Linked DNA regions of Homo sapiens: regions 1, 2, 3 and 5 are each linked to region 4. The links are contacts of gene promoters, found by promoter capture Hi-C in blood cells and fetal thymus (Javierre and others, 2016). All regions are on one chromosome and are shown on one strand. Each heading gives the region's core, a stretch centred on a gene start or on the middle of the fragment in contact. The rest is flanking DNA. Distances are from core to core; before and after follow the strand shown. Region 1 overlaps TNFRSF19 (TNF receptor superfamily member 19). Region 2 overlaps SACS (sacsin molecular chaperone). Region 3 overlaps LINC00327 (long intergenic non-protein coding RNA 327). Region 4 holds the start of SPATA13 (spermatogenesis associated 13). Region 5 overlaps SACS (sacsin molecular chaperone).

Region 1 (2,700 bases), core at 81-2,580, 590 kb before region 4:
GTCCTATTACTTCTACTGAACAAAACCCTTATGTGACATTTTTCAAAGCACTTTCCTATCTGTTGCTTCAATGGCAGCTTTGTTACTACAGAAAGTCCAAGTCTTCAAAAGACTTTTATGTTGAGTCCTGATACTGTCACCAATTAGCTATATGACCTCAAGAGAGTTTCCTCATGTGTGAAGTGAGGGAGTTGATCACATCATCTTTATGAAATAAGCAGAATTGGAATTTTTATGGCCATTTTACAGATGAGGAAACTGAGGCTATAGAAAACGAATGTCCCTATCTTAACAAGGTCACATGGCTGATTTTCCCAGTTCTAGTCCAATGTTCTTTCCAGTCTACCATGCAGGGTCTGCTTTCCAACAACTGCTTAAACAAATGCACTCTGTAGCTCATCAAAGAACAATATTAGTTTGAAAAATAAAGACAGCCACTTCCTATTGTAGTGCATTTTTTTTTTGTTTCCATGATAGATATGTCAGTCAGCTGGATTCGTCTGATTATTTTCCAACTGTTCCTTCTACTTCTGGACTTCTAAGCTGTCTAAACACAGTAGCTGCTACCCATAATTTAACATAATTTAACACGTAAAATAATTTTCACAAAAAGTTTAATGCATCAATGTGATGTGGAATTATATATGTATTTGTGTGTTTGCCTCTGTGTGTGTGTGTACATACGAGTTTGGCATTATATCAACACATATTTGTGTGTTTTGAAGGAATTGATATTTTCTTAGATGATGCCAGTGGCATCCAAAAACAGTTTAATAATTAAAGGTTAATTTTCCTCCAGGGAAATTCCCAGTGGGATTCTGTGAAACTTCAGTTGACAAACTCAATGTGCATTTCAAACATGATATGATATGTGTTTCATATCATGTTTGATTATGTTAAGACTCTTGAGCATGTTTTCATTATCTCTTTGCTTTTCTTCCTTGAAAAAATATATCTTGGGGCCAGGAGCGGTGGCTCACGCCTGTAATCCCAGCACTTTGGGAGGCCGAGGCAGACGGATCACGAGGTCAGGAGATCGAGACCATCCTGGCTAACATGGTGAAACCCCATCTCTACTAAAAATACAAAAAATTAGCCGGACAAGGTGGCAGGCGCCTGTAGTCCCAGCTACTTGGGAGGCTGAGGCAGAAAAATGGTGTGAACCCGGGAGGCAGAGCTTTCAGTGAGCCGAGATGGCGCCACTGCACTCCAGCCTGGGTGACAGAGTGAGACTCTGTCTCAAAAAAAAAAAAAAAAAAAATCTATCTATCTATATCTTGTGTGAAAAATTTTAATTTAGTTACTAATAAAATTTTATACAAATACAGGACTCTCATGGCCAAACAACTGCCCTCATAATAGGGCTTATCACCCTCTTTAGGATTCCTACATATACAAGATTATTACTAACATGACCTAATATTTATTAATTCACTCATTATCAATTAATTCAATATCAAGTACTTGTGCAAGGATAAATAACATGTGCAAGATTATAGGAATAATTCAGTGGCAGCATTGTGATCTACATTTTTTTTGTTCTGGGGCTAGGTGATTCATTCTTTTTAAGAATTACACAAAGCTGAACTTGACTGTCAGCAAACATTATAGCCAAAATTTTGGCCAAAAATATGGGCTCCAGTTTTTTTTTTTCCTTTTATATATTTTGTAAGAACTATTAGACATTTTTAATAGTATTTTCTGTCAGGATGGCCATAAAGGACCTCCCTAAGCCATGAAGGCATAATCTGTTCTCCCTCTGCTTCAGGAGTGAACTGAACTCAACCATCTGGCATTGGTTTAGTCGGATTCTCTTTCTGTGATGGCAAGGCCAGTCCAAGCCACCCTGGAAGAATGAGTGATTTTGTCCCCTTTAAAGGATGGTTCTTTAAAACGTTGTCCACCTGGGTGAGCTCTGTGATGGGAGGGCAGAGGGAGGCTCCCTGGTGGCTGTGTTGGCTGTGCTTTAATTTCTCCTCTACTGTCACTAGTCATTCAGCTTTGGCTCCAAAGTTGTTACCTCAAACCCACCCACTTGCCAAAATCAATACTCACTTCTTTAGATTAAGTAGGTAGTTTAAAACCCTCCTTTGTGACTTAAATTTTCTCTTTGATGAGAAGGGGAAGGAGAAGTCATGTGGGGGTTTCCAATGACTTCATAAAACCATTCCTTCCAACATAACCCACTGTCTTTGAGAGGAGTTCTGATAAAGATAGTTTTCTCCATCCTGTTAAATGCCCCCCATTCTTTGGTGGCTCTATAGCTTAGCACCATGGGCTGCTGCCCAGCCAGCCTGGCCTCAAGCCAGCCCTAGGTCGGGGAGTCCACCATGTTCATCAGGAAGGAGAGAAGGAGAGTCAATGGACTGTCTCTTCCCTCATCGAACTCATGAAAAGGGTCTAGCCAATGAGGTACTCAGGGCCAAACTCACAAAGATCAGTGCAAGTGCTGCAACTTGTAACAACTTTGCTCTGTAAGTGTCTTGAGCTCCACTTACAGGAGGGGGCTATAAAAATAGCCTCCTTGGGTTTTTCATATATATTGGTTTACGCACCCATGGTATGGTGAAGATTATGTTAAGATACAGAAAGCCCAGATTCTGATTCCAGCTTTGTTAATTAACTTGGTGTGCAGCATTCAGGAAGTCACTGGGCATTGGCCTCACGGTGCTCCCTCAGCCCCATGCTGATAGTCTATAA
Region 2 (2,700 bases), core at 6-2,505, 780 kb before region 4:
CAGGCCACCACTCAGGGCCCCAGCTGTTCTCACTGCCCCACATCCTTTCTCCTCCAATCAACCCTTCATATTACCATCAAGTTATTGTATAATCGAGTGTGACTAAATCCCTCCCCAGCATCAAGATATTTTTAGTAGTTCAAGTTACCTGCATCGTAATGTCCAAATGTTTCCCAGCCTTGTCTCCATCCCTCCTTCCTGAACAGCCCCAGAGCTCTGCAGGCCTGTTCATGCCTTTGTACTGCTTTTTTTGCACCTTTCTCAGCCCATTCTGTTTCCTCCTGCAGCATCTGGCTCCTCCCTCCATGTTCAATTTTGATGGCCCACCCTTGATAGCCCCATTCAAATGTCACTTCAAAATTGTCTCTCTCCCCCCAACACTGTTTAAGGAAAAACGGCAATAAGTCCAGGACAAACGACGCTTATGTCTCCTTTCTTACTCTCTCTGAATACTTTGTATATCCACCCATCCCAGCTCTTTCCATATTACACAAACCACATATTTACTTGCTAAGTCCCCCTCTGGAGACATTCAAGAGCAGAAAACATGCCTCCATATCCCTTGTTCACACCATCACCCTCTCCCCAACCCCAGTGCCTGGCACAGAACCCAGCAAATGTGTGCACAAATCAGGATGGAGATCAGTAAGAAGGGTCATCGCAAGGTCTTTCTGGGGAGGGTTGGTTAAAAAGCTAGAACTTCAGCCTTAAATCATGTAATGGAAGAATACTGATCTCATACTTAAGTGGTTAAGTGCATGAATGGGGTATTAGAAACACTCCTTCACATTTCAGGAGGTAGCAATAAAAGACATCAGAGATGGGAAGACTCAAATAACATTACTGATTTTCCACCCATCAATCAGTGCTCAGGCAGAAGAGCAGAAGGCTTTCTCTAGCCAAGCCCGTGCAAGGTGACTTCCGCCTTCGTAGACATCTTCAGCATTTAACTTCCACTCATCAGTGACTGCACAGGAATGAAATGCATTTACTCATCAACTATGGAAAGTCCCTCTTGATCATGGCCTCTTGTATGTCACTCTGTGTTCCACATCATTCACTGCCAAATAAGCGAATGTAGTGATGTTCACATGTGTGGCTTGTCATGACCACTCACTATAACCACTTACCATCTCTGTACAAATTTAAATTAGGGGAAGAAAAGGAAGTCCTTCTTAACTTTTCTGTTTTGTGTTCATTTCTTTAATAATTCTCTTATTGGACAGATATTAATAAACTAGTTATTAGAGAAAGTTGTGAGTTGATTTATCCTTTCACAGCAAACTCCAAAACAATTTTTCAAAGCCTAAGGAAGAGATGCACCCATTCACTTTATATTAGTTTGGGAGATGTAATGGTGAAAAAAACAGGGCCCAAGGGGAGTTGGGATTCAGACTGTGGAGGACCAGAGAATGAAGGAATCATTGGCATTCATGCAGGATCTAAAACTTTTTCATTTTTTGGGCCAAAATTTCATTTTTTTGGCACAGGAATACCTCAGAGATATTGAAGATTTGGTTCCAAACCAGTGCAATATAATGAATATCACAATAAAATAAGTCACATAATATTTTGTTTTCCCGGTGCAGATAAAAGTTATGTTTATACACTATACTATAGTCTATTAAGTGTGAAATAGCATTATGTCTTTAAAAATGTACATTCCTGGCCGGGCATGGTGGCTCACGCCTGTAATCCCAGGACTTTGGGAGGCCGAGGTAGGCAGATCACGAGGTCAGGAGATCGAGAACATCCTGGCTAACACGGTGAAACGCCATCTCTACTAAAAATACAAATACAGCCTGGGCGACAGAGGGAGACTCTGTCTCAAAAAAAAAAAAAAGTTTTATCATGAGATTGCCCCAACTCAGTCACATCATCAGGCTCCACTGCTAATTCTAGTTCTTGCTGTTTCCATCACTTCTGTAGTTACTTCCTCCAATGAAATCTTGAACTCCTCAAAGTCATCCACAAGGGTTGGAATCAACTTCTTCCAAACTCCTGTTAATGTTGATATTTTGACCTTCTCCCATGAATCATGGATGTTCTTTTTTTTTTTTTTTTGAGATAGAGTTTTGCTCTTGTTGCCCAGGCTGGAGTGCAAGGGTGTGATCCTGGCTCACTGCAACTTCCGCTTCCTGGGTTCAAGCGATTCTCCTGCCTCAGCCTCCCAAGTAGCTGGGATTACAAGCATGTGCCACCATGCCCGGTAATTTTGTATTTTTAGTAGTGATGAGGTTTCATCATGTTGGTTAGGCTGGTCTCGAATTCCTGACTTCAGCTGATCCACCCGCCTCGGCCACCCAAAGTGCTAGGACTACAGGCATGAGCCACAGCACCTGGCCAATCATGGATGTTCTTAATGGAATCTAGAATGGTGAATCCTTTCCAGGAACTTTTCAATTCATTTTGCCCAGATCCGTCAGAGGAATCACTATCTATGGCAGCTATAGCCTCATAAAATGTATTTCTTAAATAATAAGACTTGAAAGTCAAAATTATTCCTTGATCTGTGGGCTGCAGAATGGATGCTGTGTTAGCAGGCAGGAAACGATATTCATCGCCTTGTACTTCTCCATCAGAGCTCTTGGGCGACCAGGTGCAATGTCAATAAGCAGTAATATTTTGAAAGGAATCTTTCTTTCTGAACAGTTGGTCTCAACAGTGGGCTTAAAATATTCCGTAAACCATGCTGTAAAT
Region 3 (2,700 bases), core at 120-2,619, 690 kb before region 4:
CACCCCTCCCTTTCCCACCCTTCCAGAGCATCTGGAAGGTCAACATTGTCACTGTTACAAAAGATAAAGAATGAAGGAATTTCACACATTTACCTAGGAAGATGTAAATCTTCTGTTGTAGATAATTTATTACAGAGTACTCCGTCCACATCCAGGTGCCCCACACAAGTGCTTCGCAAAGCATCTGTGGTGAAGGACCAGCTTTTGTGTTAAAATTTCAAATCCATTGCAGAAGGTTACTTTTTAAAATATAGTAGAAATAAATTACTAGAAAAATAAAATTTAAAAAGCAAAGGCACACAAAATACAAGCCCAAATGTTTTATTACCAGACTCAAGAGACAAAAGATTATATTTCTTTTTTTTTTTTTTGAGATGGAGTCTCGTTCTGTCACCCAGGCTGGAGCGCAGTGGCACCATCTCAGCTCACTGCAGGCTCTGCCTCCCAGATTCATGCCATTCTCCTGCCTCAGCCTCCTGAATAGCTGGGACTACAGGCGCCCTCCACCAAGCCCGGCTAATTTTTTGTATTTTTAGTAGAGACAGGGTTTCACCGTGTTAGCCAGGATGGTCTCAATCTCCTGACCTCGTGATCTGCCCGCCTCAGCCTCCCAAAGTGCTGGGATTACAGGCATGAGCCACCGTGCCCGGCCCCTAGACAAAATATTATATTTCAATCAATGTTATCAGAACAAATTTAAAATAGAAAAAAAGACAAGAATTACAAAAATGGTACATACTTATTGAAAGTGTGTGTATAGGCAATTAAAGTAGCCAATCATTTTTACATTAAAATATTTGTGTCATTCTACCATTGAAACTAAACAAAAGGTTATGAAAGGAATTGTAATTTCCCATATAGAAAACCTATAAGTTTTGAATAAACAGCATGTATAAAAATATCAAAAGCTTTTATTGTAAAAAATGAGCCTGATTCTTGTTTTTTAATTAATTTATGTTGGATTGTTGACAATGCTATTCACAGAAGATAATGCATGTCTAAACTGTTTCTACGTATTTTTTCCCTTGTTTTTTAAGATACAATTTACGTATCATAAAATTATCATTTTAAAGTGTACAAACAATTGGCAGGGCACAGTGGCTCTCGCCTGTAATCCTAGCACTTTGGGAGGCCGAGGCGGGTGGATCACTTGAAGTCAGAAGTTTGAGACCAGGCTGACCAACATGGTGAAACTCCGTCTCTACTAAAAATACAGAATTAGCTGGGCAGGTGGTGCATGCCTGTAATCTCAGCTATTTGGGAGGCTGAGGCAGGAGAATCGCTTGAACCCGGGAGGTGGAGGTTGCAGTGACCTGAGATTGTGCCACTGCATTTCAGCCTGAGCAACACGAGAGAACCTCCATCTCAAAAAAAAAAAAAATTAAAGTGCACAATTCAGTGGTTCTCAGTGTATCATATTCACAATTTGTGCAACCAAAAGCACTATCTAATTCCAGGATGTTTTCATCACCCCAAATGGAGATCTCATACTCTTGGGCAGCCATTGCCCAGTCTCCCGGCCATCAGCCCTGAACACTTCCTAATCTATTCTGTTTCTTTATAGTTTTGCCCATTCTGAACATTTCATATAAACGGAATAAAAGGCTACAACATGTAGCCTTTTTTGTCTGACGTCTTTTACTCAGCATAGTGTTTTCAAGGTTCATCCACATTGTTGTATGTGTCAGTAATTCATTCCTTTTTGTGGCTGAATAGTATTTCTTTGTGTGGATAGACCACAATTTATTTATTCATTCATCTGTTAGTGGACAATTGAGTTGTTTCCACTTTTTGGCTATTATGAATAATGCTACTGTGAACATTAAAATGTAAGCTTTTGTGTGAACATACATTTTCATTTTCTTGGCTATATCCCTAGGAATTGAATTGCTGGGTTATATATGAGAACTGTATGTTTAACTTTTTTAGGAACCAGCTGTTTTCCACAGTGGTTGTACCATTTTATATACCCACCAGCAATTTATTAGAGTTCCAATTTTTCCACATCCTTGCCAATATTATTTCCCTTTTAAAAATTATTATTATAGTCATTCTAGTGTGTCTGAAATGATATCTCATTGTAGTTTTGATTTGCATTTCTCTGATGATCAATGATGTTGAGCACCTTTTCAAATACCTGGTTGCCATTTGTATGCCTTCTTTGGAGAAATGTCTGTTCGAATCATTTGCTCACTTTTTTAATGGAGTTTTTTACTGTTGAGTTGTCAGAGAGCTTCATTCATATATTCTAGATACTAGATGCTTATGAGATACATGGTTTGCAGGTATTTTATTTCATTCTGTGGGTTTTCTTTTCTTTAGGACAGTCTCTTGATAGTGTCCTTTAATGCACTGTGATGCTGTGATGCTGATGAAATCCAATTTGTCTATTTTTGTCTTTGTTTACTTAGGCATTTGGGATCATATCTAGGAAACTAATGCCTAAATGATGAAGATTTACACACATTTTCATATAAGAGTCTTATACTTTGGGCTCTTTTTAAATTTAGTGGTTTTTTAAAATGTGTGTTTTGTTGTTTCTTTCAAGATACAGGGTCTTGCTCTGTTGCCCAGGCTGGAGTATAGCAGTGCAATTACAGCTCACGGCAACCTCAAACTCCTCGGCTCAAATGATTTTCCCACCTCAGCCTCCAGAGTAGCAGGCACTACACTATCCATTTTTAAAATATTTTAACATGG
Region 4 (2,700 bases), core at 11-2,510:
GGAATGGAAAGTACACGGAGTTCTGATGTACTCCCTCACGCCCCTCCCTCCACACACAGCTGCTTGTACTGACATCTTACATTCGAGTGGCACATGTGTTATGATTGATGGGCCCATGTTGTTACATTAAGATGAACTAAGTCCATTACTTACAGGAGGCTCACGCCGCATGCTGTTCATTCTGTGAGTTTTGAGAAATGCATAATGACATGAAGCCACCATTATAATGTCATACAGAGTTTTTTCAATATTTTAAAAAACATACATAAAATTAATTTTCACTTTTCATTGGGTAATATAATTTTTGTTTTTTATTTTACAGATTGTGGGTATTGTTCTTTGATTATAAAAGACAATAGACATTTATAAATAATAGTGCTGGCCACTAAATGAATCATCTAAAAAACTACACTGGTAGAAAGCATGCATTTATTTTATGAATTCCATTAGCTGCCTATCAGGGAACATGGAGCACTGGGGCACAGATCCCAGCACAGAAGGGTTTGCTTCTCTTCTGTGGTTTTCATGTCAATTAATGATTAGGCCTTGAGCCTCACAAGAAAGGTGATAGGCCTTTGAGTCGGTTTACTGCAACAGTCTACTCAAGACTTGCCCCAGGCCCTGGGAAACATGTAGGTTTAAAAATCCCTACCCTGCGTTTTCCTTTCACAGGGAGTGAACTTCTGGCCCAGGCAGTGGGCAGTGGGGCACGGTTGCCCCGGAGATGAGACTCCTCTTCCCGCCCTGGGGGGTGGGGGCTGGCTGGTGGCTGAGGGAACTATTTTTGTTTGTTTCTTTTTTTAAAAAACGGAGTCTGGCTGTGTCCTCCAGGTTGGAGTGCAGTGGCGCGATCTCGGCACACTGCAACCTCCGCCTCTCGGGTTCAAGTGATTCTCCTGCCTTAGCCTCCTGAGTAGCTGGGATCACAGGCGCCTGTCACCACGCCCGGTTAATTTTTATTTTTATTAGAGACGGGGTTTCACCATGTTGGCCAAGCTGCTCTCAAATTCCTGACCTCAGGTGATCCGCCCACCTCGGCCTCCAAAAGTGCTAGGATTACAGGCAAGAGCCACTGCGCCTGGCCGGGGAACTGTTTTTGATGGGTGGGGTCCCCGGCTGTGGTTGGTAGTGTGGGGGCGTGGCCGAGGGTGTGGCCTGAGGGAGTGAGCTAACCGGGGGCGTGGCCTGATATGGGGCGGGGGGAAGAGCCGGGCTGGGGGCGTGGCCTGGTGGGGAGCGGGGCTGGGGCGTGGCTTGGCTGAGTGTGCTGCCGCGGCGCGGGAGGAGAGTGTGCGTTGCGCTTTCTCCCGCGATCGCCCTGCCGGTCGCTAGCTCCGAGGGCGCGCACTGGATCCCAGGCTCCTCCGAGAGTGCGGCGACCTCGGGGCTCCGCCGGCACCGGAGGTGGCTCTGAGGGCAGGGACGTGTTGGACACGCTGACTTTGTAGGCTCCGCCAAGAGGCGCCGCAGGAGGTAAGACGGCTTCGGGCGCGCGGCTCTGCCGGGCGGGCGCGGGCATGGGCTGTTAGGTAGAATATCGGGAGGATTTGAGTCCCAGTGGACTGCCTCGGGGCTTCGGGATGTCCAGCTCCCAGCTGCTTGGCCTCTGCTTCCCCCGCCGGTGGAGGCTACCGGGTGCTCACCTGTTAGGTCCGTGCGCCCGCTCCCTGCCCGGCGGTGGCTCTGCGCCCTCTGGGCCACCCGGCACCATCGCTTTTGGGAGGACATGCACGTGGTGTTCTCGCAAAAGGCCGTTTCCAGCCGGAAGCCTGCAGGGAGGTCGCCTTGTAACTTCACCCGCGCTCCCAGCTCGCGGGGCCTGGCCTACAGGGGCGGCCGTGGGGGTGGCAGAGTCTGGGGAGCCTGGCGCGGCGGAGCCCTGTAACGCTCTGCTCCATCGGGTGGCGTGGCTGGTGCCTCCGGGGACCCGGAGCGATGCGGTTGGAGAGCTTAGTTTAGAAAGCAAGTTTCTCTTGGTACCAGCGGAGTCTCGTCCCAGGGGAAAGATTTTGGGACCCGGTGCCCATCGTCTGTGGACTGCAGGGAATGCATTGGCGGAGTTGGTTTGGTCCCATTCTGTGCAGGAGGTGGGGGAATTGGTACTCCAGCCCCAGGCAGGTAGAAGCCCGCGCTGCTGCCAGCGTCAGGGGGAGCTCGGGTGACTTGGGCTGGGCCACCCATCTGACTGCAAGGTTACAGAGCTTGAGCAAATTTCCCCTCCCTCCAAGTGCAGGAAAACCAAACCAAAGCAAGCAAACAAAACCCTGTGGGTCATTTGCTTCCCAGCATTGCATAGGGATGTGGATAAATAGAATAATACTGTGAATTTATTCAGCTCTTGTTCCCATGGCTTCCCATAGCCTTATATTATGCACCTCCCCCTGCCAGCATTTTCTCTGTCCCCACCTTCGGTTTTTGCTGCCTCGTGTTTTCTTCTCTGTGAACCTTTCCTGGTCACCCAGCGATTTGCTCTCCTTTATTCCCCTTGCTAACAGGCGGAGAAATCTCACTCCTTTTCTTTTTCCACCTTTCCCAACAAATTCTCCTTTTTTCCTAATGTCCCCCTCCCCCGTCTTGCAAACTTCCTCACTGCATTATTCTCGGGGTGCCTGTCATGCACCCTCCCTGTTCTCTGCCCTCCTCCCGCACTTTAGAGTTTCATGTGGCTTTGTCTTATTATCCCATATCCTAATTCTCATC
Region 5 (2,700 bases), core at 21-2,520, 800 kb before region 4:
GAGATCAGAGATCACTGCCACCTGCTTTTATATAATACATTCCTTTTTTTTTTTTTTTTTTTTTTGAGATGGAGTCTCACTCTGTCACCCAGGCTGGAGTGCAGTGGCAAGATCTCGGCTCACTGCAATCTCCACCTCCCAGGTTCAAGTGATTCTCCTGCCTCAGCCTCCTGAGTAGCTGGGATTACAGATATGCATCACCACGCACGGCTAATTTTTGTATTTTTAGTAGAAACAGGGTTTCGCCATGTTGACCAGGCTGGTTTCAAACTCCTGACCTCAGGTGATCCACCTGCCTCAGCCTCTCAAAGTGCTGGGATTACAGGCAGGAGCCACCATGCCCAGCCTGCATTTATTTCATTTTTTATTTATGTATGTATTTATTTTTGAGACAGAGTTTCGCCCTTGTTGCCCAGGCTGGACTGCAATGGCACAGTCTCAGCTCACTGCAACCTCTGCCTCCCGGGTTCAAGGGTTCTCCTGCCTCAGCCTCCCAAGTAGCTGGGATTACAGGTGCTCACCACCACGCCCAGATAATTTTTGTATTTGTATTAGAGATGGGGTTTCACCATGTTGGCCAGGCTGGTCTCAAATTCCTGACCTCAGGTGATCTGTCCACCTCAGCCTCCCAAAGTGCTGGGATTACAGGCATGAGCCACCGCACCTGGCCTACATTTATTTTTTACTTACTTATATATTTATTTTTGAGACACAGTTTCGCTCTTGTTGCCCAGGCTGGACTGCAATAGTGGGGTCTTGGCTCACTGCAACCTCTGCCTCCCAGGTTCAAGCGATTCTCCTGCCTCAGCCTCCCAAGTAGCTGTGATTACAGGTGCCCGCCACCACACCTGGCTAATTTTTGTATTTTTAGTAGAGACAGGTTTCAACATGTTGGCCAGGCTGGTCTCGAATTCCTGACCTCAGGTGATCTGCCCACTTGGCCTCCCAAAGTGCTGGGATTACAGGTGTGAGCCACCGCACCCAGCCCACGTTTATTTTAAATTGGCCACTTTTAAAGAGCCTATCTCTAAATATACCTATGCATAAACTCGCAAAATAATCCAGTTTCAAATGTTTTTTAAAACAAGGTGAAGTCAAGGCTAGAAGCAAAAACATCATAGGCTCTCCTTACACTCTTACCTTAGCAGTTCCACAGCACATACCGTCATCAGTATGATACCAGGTATAAAACATTATCACATATATTATCTCATATAATCCTCAAACTATGTGGGAGAAAGATTTTCTCATACCACTTGCAGGCAAGCAGTAAGTCAGTGTGAGGGTCACAGCTGCCACTGAGTGTAACAGTGCCTGGGGGGCAGTACAATGGGGTAGTACTGTGTAGGATTAGGACTTAACCTGAAGTCTCTTGAATCCAATGTTACATTAAGTCACAGGCTCTTAGAGACAAGATACCTTGCAGGCTAATCCTCTTATTATAAAAATGATCTGACCTCTGTGATGACTGGCCCAAGTCACTAAGGTAGCAGCAGTCAGGACTAGAACGCACACCTCCTGATGTTATGTCCCACACACCTCTTTTTATAGAGTATAGAAAGTACAACTTTCAAGTGACAAATGTGAGCTAAGAATGACTATATGAGACATAACAAATGCTAGATATTTAACTAAATGTTAACTGGCCTCCTAAATCATAAAACATCTTTTTAAAAATACATGACTTAAATCTCTTTAAAAAGGTGTCTCAGAAGGTCTGACTTGATCCCACTTTTTCTCAGTAACTTTCTGTCACATACAGTCATTGACAATGACTTCAGAGGTATACTAAATTGAAGTGATGTGATCTCGGCTCACTACAACCTCCGCCTCCCGAGTTCAAGCGATTCTCCGGCCTCAGCCTCCTGAGTAGCTGGGATTACAGGCGTCTGCCACCACGCCCAGCTAATTTTTATATTTTTAGTAGAGACGGGGTTTTGCCACGTTCGCCAGGCTGGTCCCAAACTCCTGACCTCAGGTGATCTGCCCACCTCAGCCTCCCAAAGTGCTAGGATTACAGGCGTGAGCCACCGCACCCAGCCAGAGGTATACTACAATTTATGAACATTCTTTTTGACACCAAAGCTCCCCGGAGTAGAAGTGAGATATTAGGAGTCTATTGGTTAGGGTTCTTATTGGATTAATAATTTATTAGTTTATGGCTTTCTTATCATGTTTCCTTTCATTTTCCTTGTTCTCTCCTCTCCTTCAATCTTTCTTCCCACCCAACTTCCAAACAATGTCGAGGGTACTCCTAAAGCGGAAAATACACAAAAGCATGGCCTTTCACAACATCTTTCCAAATGCAGGAAAGTGTTACTATACATAAATGGTGTCCCTTTATCCTACTGATAATATAAAATACAAGTTGTTTGAATAGAATAAGAGGCTTTGGTCATTACATTGCTTGTCATTTTGAGTTTTCAGATTTTATTCTTTGTTCTCTAAAAATACCAACTGGTGGAGACACCTTCCCACCAAAAGCAGAGAAAAACATCTGAAGAAGTGGACATAAACATGCCAAAAAGTACAAATGATAGACTGTTCATTAAACAAAGCATTATTAATCATTAAAAACTGCCTGTTAGTGCATACAATAAAATTTGTTCCTAATTATTGATTCTTACCCTGATATGGCGCCATATCTTTTGACCAAAGAGTCTCTGTTCCGTATTGAGTTTCATCATATAAAAATTTAAC

Evidence for each region. Contacts are between HindIII fragments. The CHiCAGO score rates a contact against its expected background, and 5 or more counts as called.
Region 1: a contact is called between a fragment that was not itself captured here and the fragment with the promoter of SPATA13 in region 4, in 1 of 17 cell types (fetal thymus). The highest score is 5.1, in fetal thymus.
Region 2: a contact is called between a fragment that was not itself captured here and the fragment with the promoter of SPATA13 in region 4, in 1 of 17 cell types (monocytes). The highest score is 6.3, in monocytes.
Region 3: a contact is called between a fragment that was not itself captured here and the fragment with the promoter of SPATA13 in region 4, in 1 of 17 cell types (fetal thymus). The highest score is 8.5, in fetal thymus.
Region 5: a contact is called between a fragment that was not itself captured here and the fragment with the promoter of SPATA13 in region 4, in 1 of 17 cell types (fetal thymus). The highest score is 5.8, in fetal thymus.

Annotation. Positions count from the first base shown.
Region 1 is chr13:23,572,821-23,575,520 of GRCh38, forward strand. All of the region lies in intron 1 of TNFRSF19 (TNF receptor superfamily member 19), which reads left to right. Among named protein-coding and RNA genes, the nearest start is that of TNFRSF19, 3.8 kb to the left of the region's middle. RefSeq lists enhancers at 1,391-1,560, 2,031-2,180. The HindIII fragment of the contact is 6,515 bases long and covers 1-2,700 here.
Region 2 is chr13:23,383,313-23,386,012 of GRCh38, forward strand. The region is part of intron 2 of SACS (sacsin molecular chaperone); the gene reads right to left. Among named protein-coding and RNA genes, the nearest start is that of SACS-AS1, 34 kb to the right of the region's middle. RefSeq lists enhancers at 798-857, 878-1,107. The HindIII fragment of the contact is 4,314 bases long and covers 1-2,700 here.
Region 3 is chr13:23,473,395-23,476,094 of GRCh38, forward strand. All of the region lies in intron 2 of LINC00327 (long intergenic non-protein coding RNA 327), which reads left to right. Among named protein-coding and RNA genes, the nearest start is that of LINC00327, 5.2 kb to the left of the region's middle. The HindIII fragment of the contact is 926 bases long and covers 907-1,832 here.
Region 4 is chr13:24,159,460-24,162,159 of GRCh38, forward strand. It overlaps SPATA13 (spermatogenesis associated 13), which reads left to right and starts at 1,261. Exons shown (of 13, transcript NM_001166271.3): 1 at 1,261-1,473. RefSeq lists a silencer at 1,152-1,211. The HindIII fragment of the contact is 10,500 bases long and covers 1-2,700 here.
Region 5 is chr13:23,362,539-23,365,238 of GRCh38, forward strand. SACS (sacsin molecular chaperone) reads right to left here. Exons shown (of 10, transcript NM_014363.6): 6 at 2,628-2,700. Among named protein-coding and RNA genes, the nearest start is that of SACS-AS1, 55 kb to the right of the region's middle. The HindIII fragment of the contact is 3,544 bases long and covers 1-2,700 here.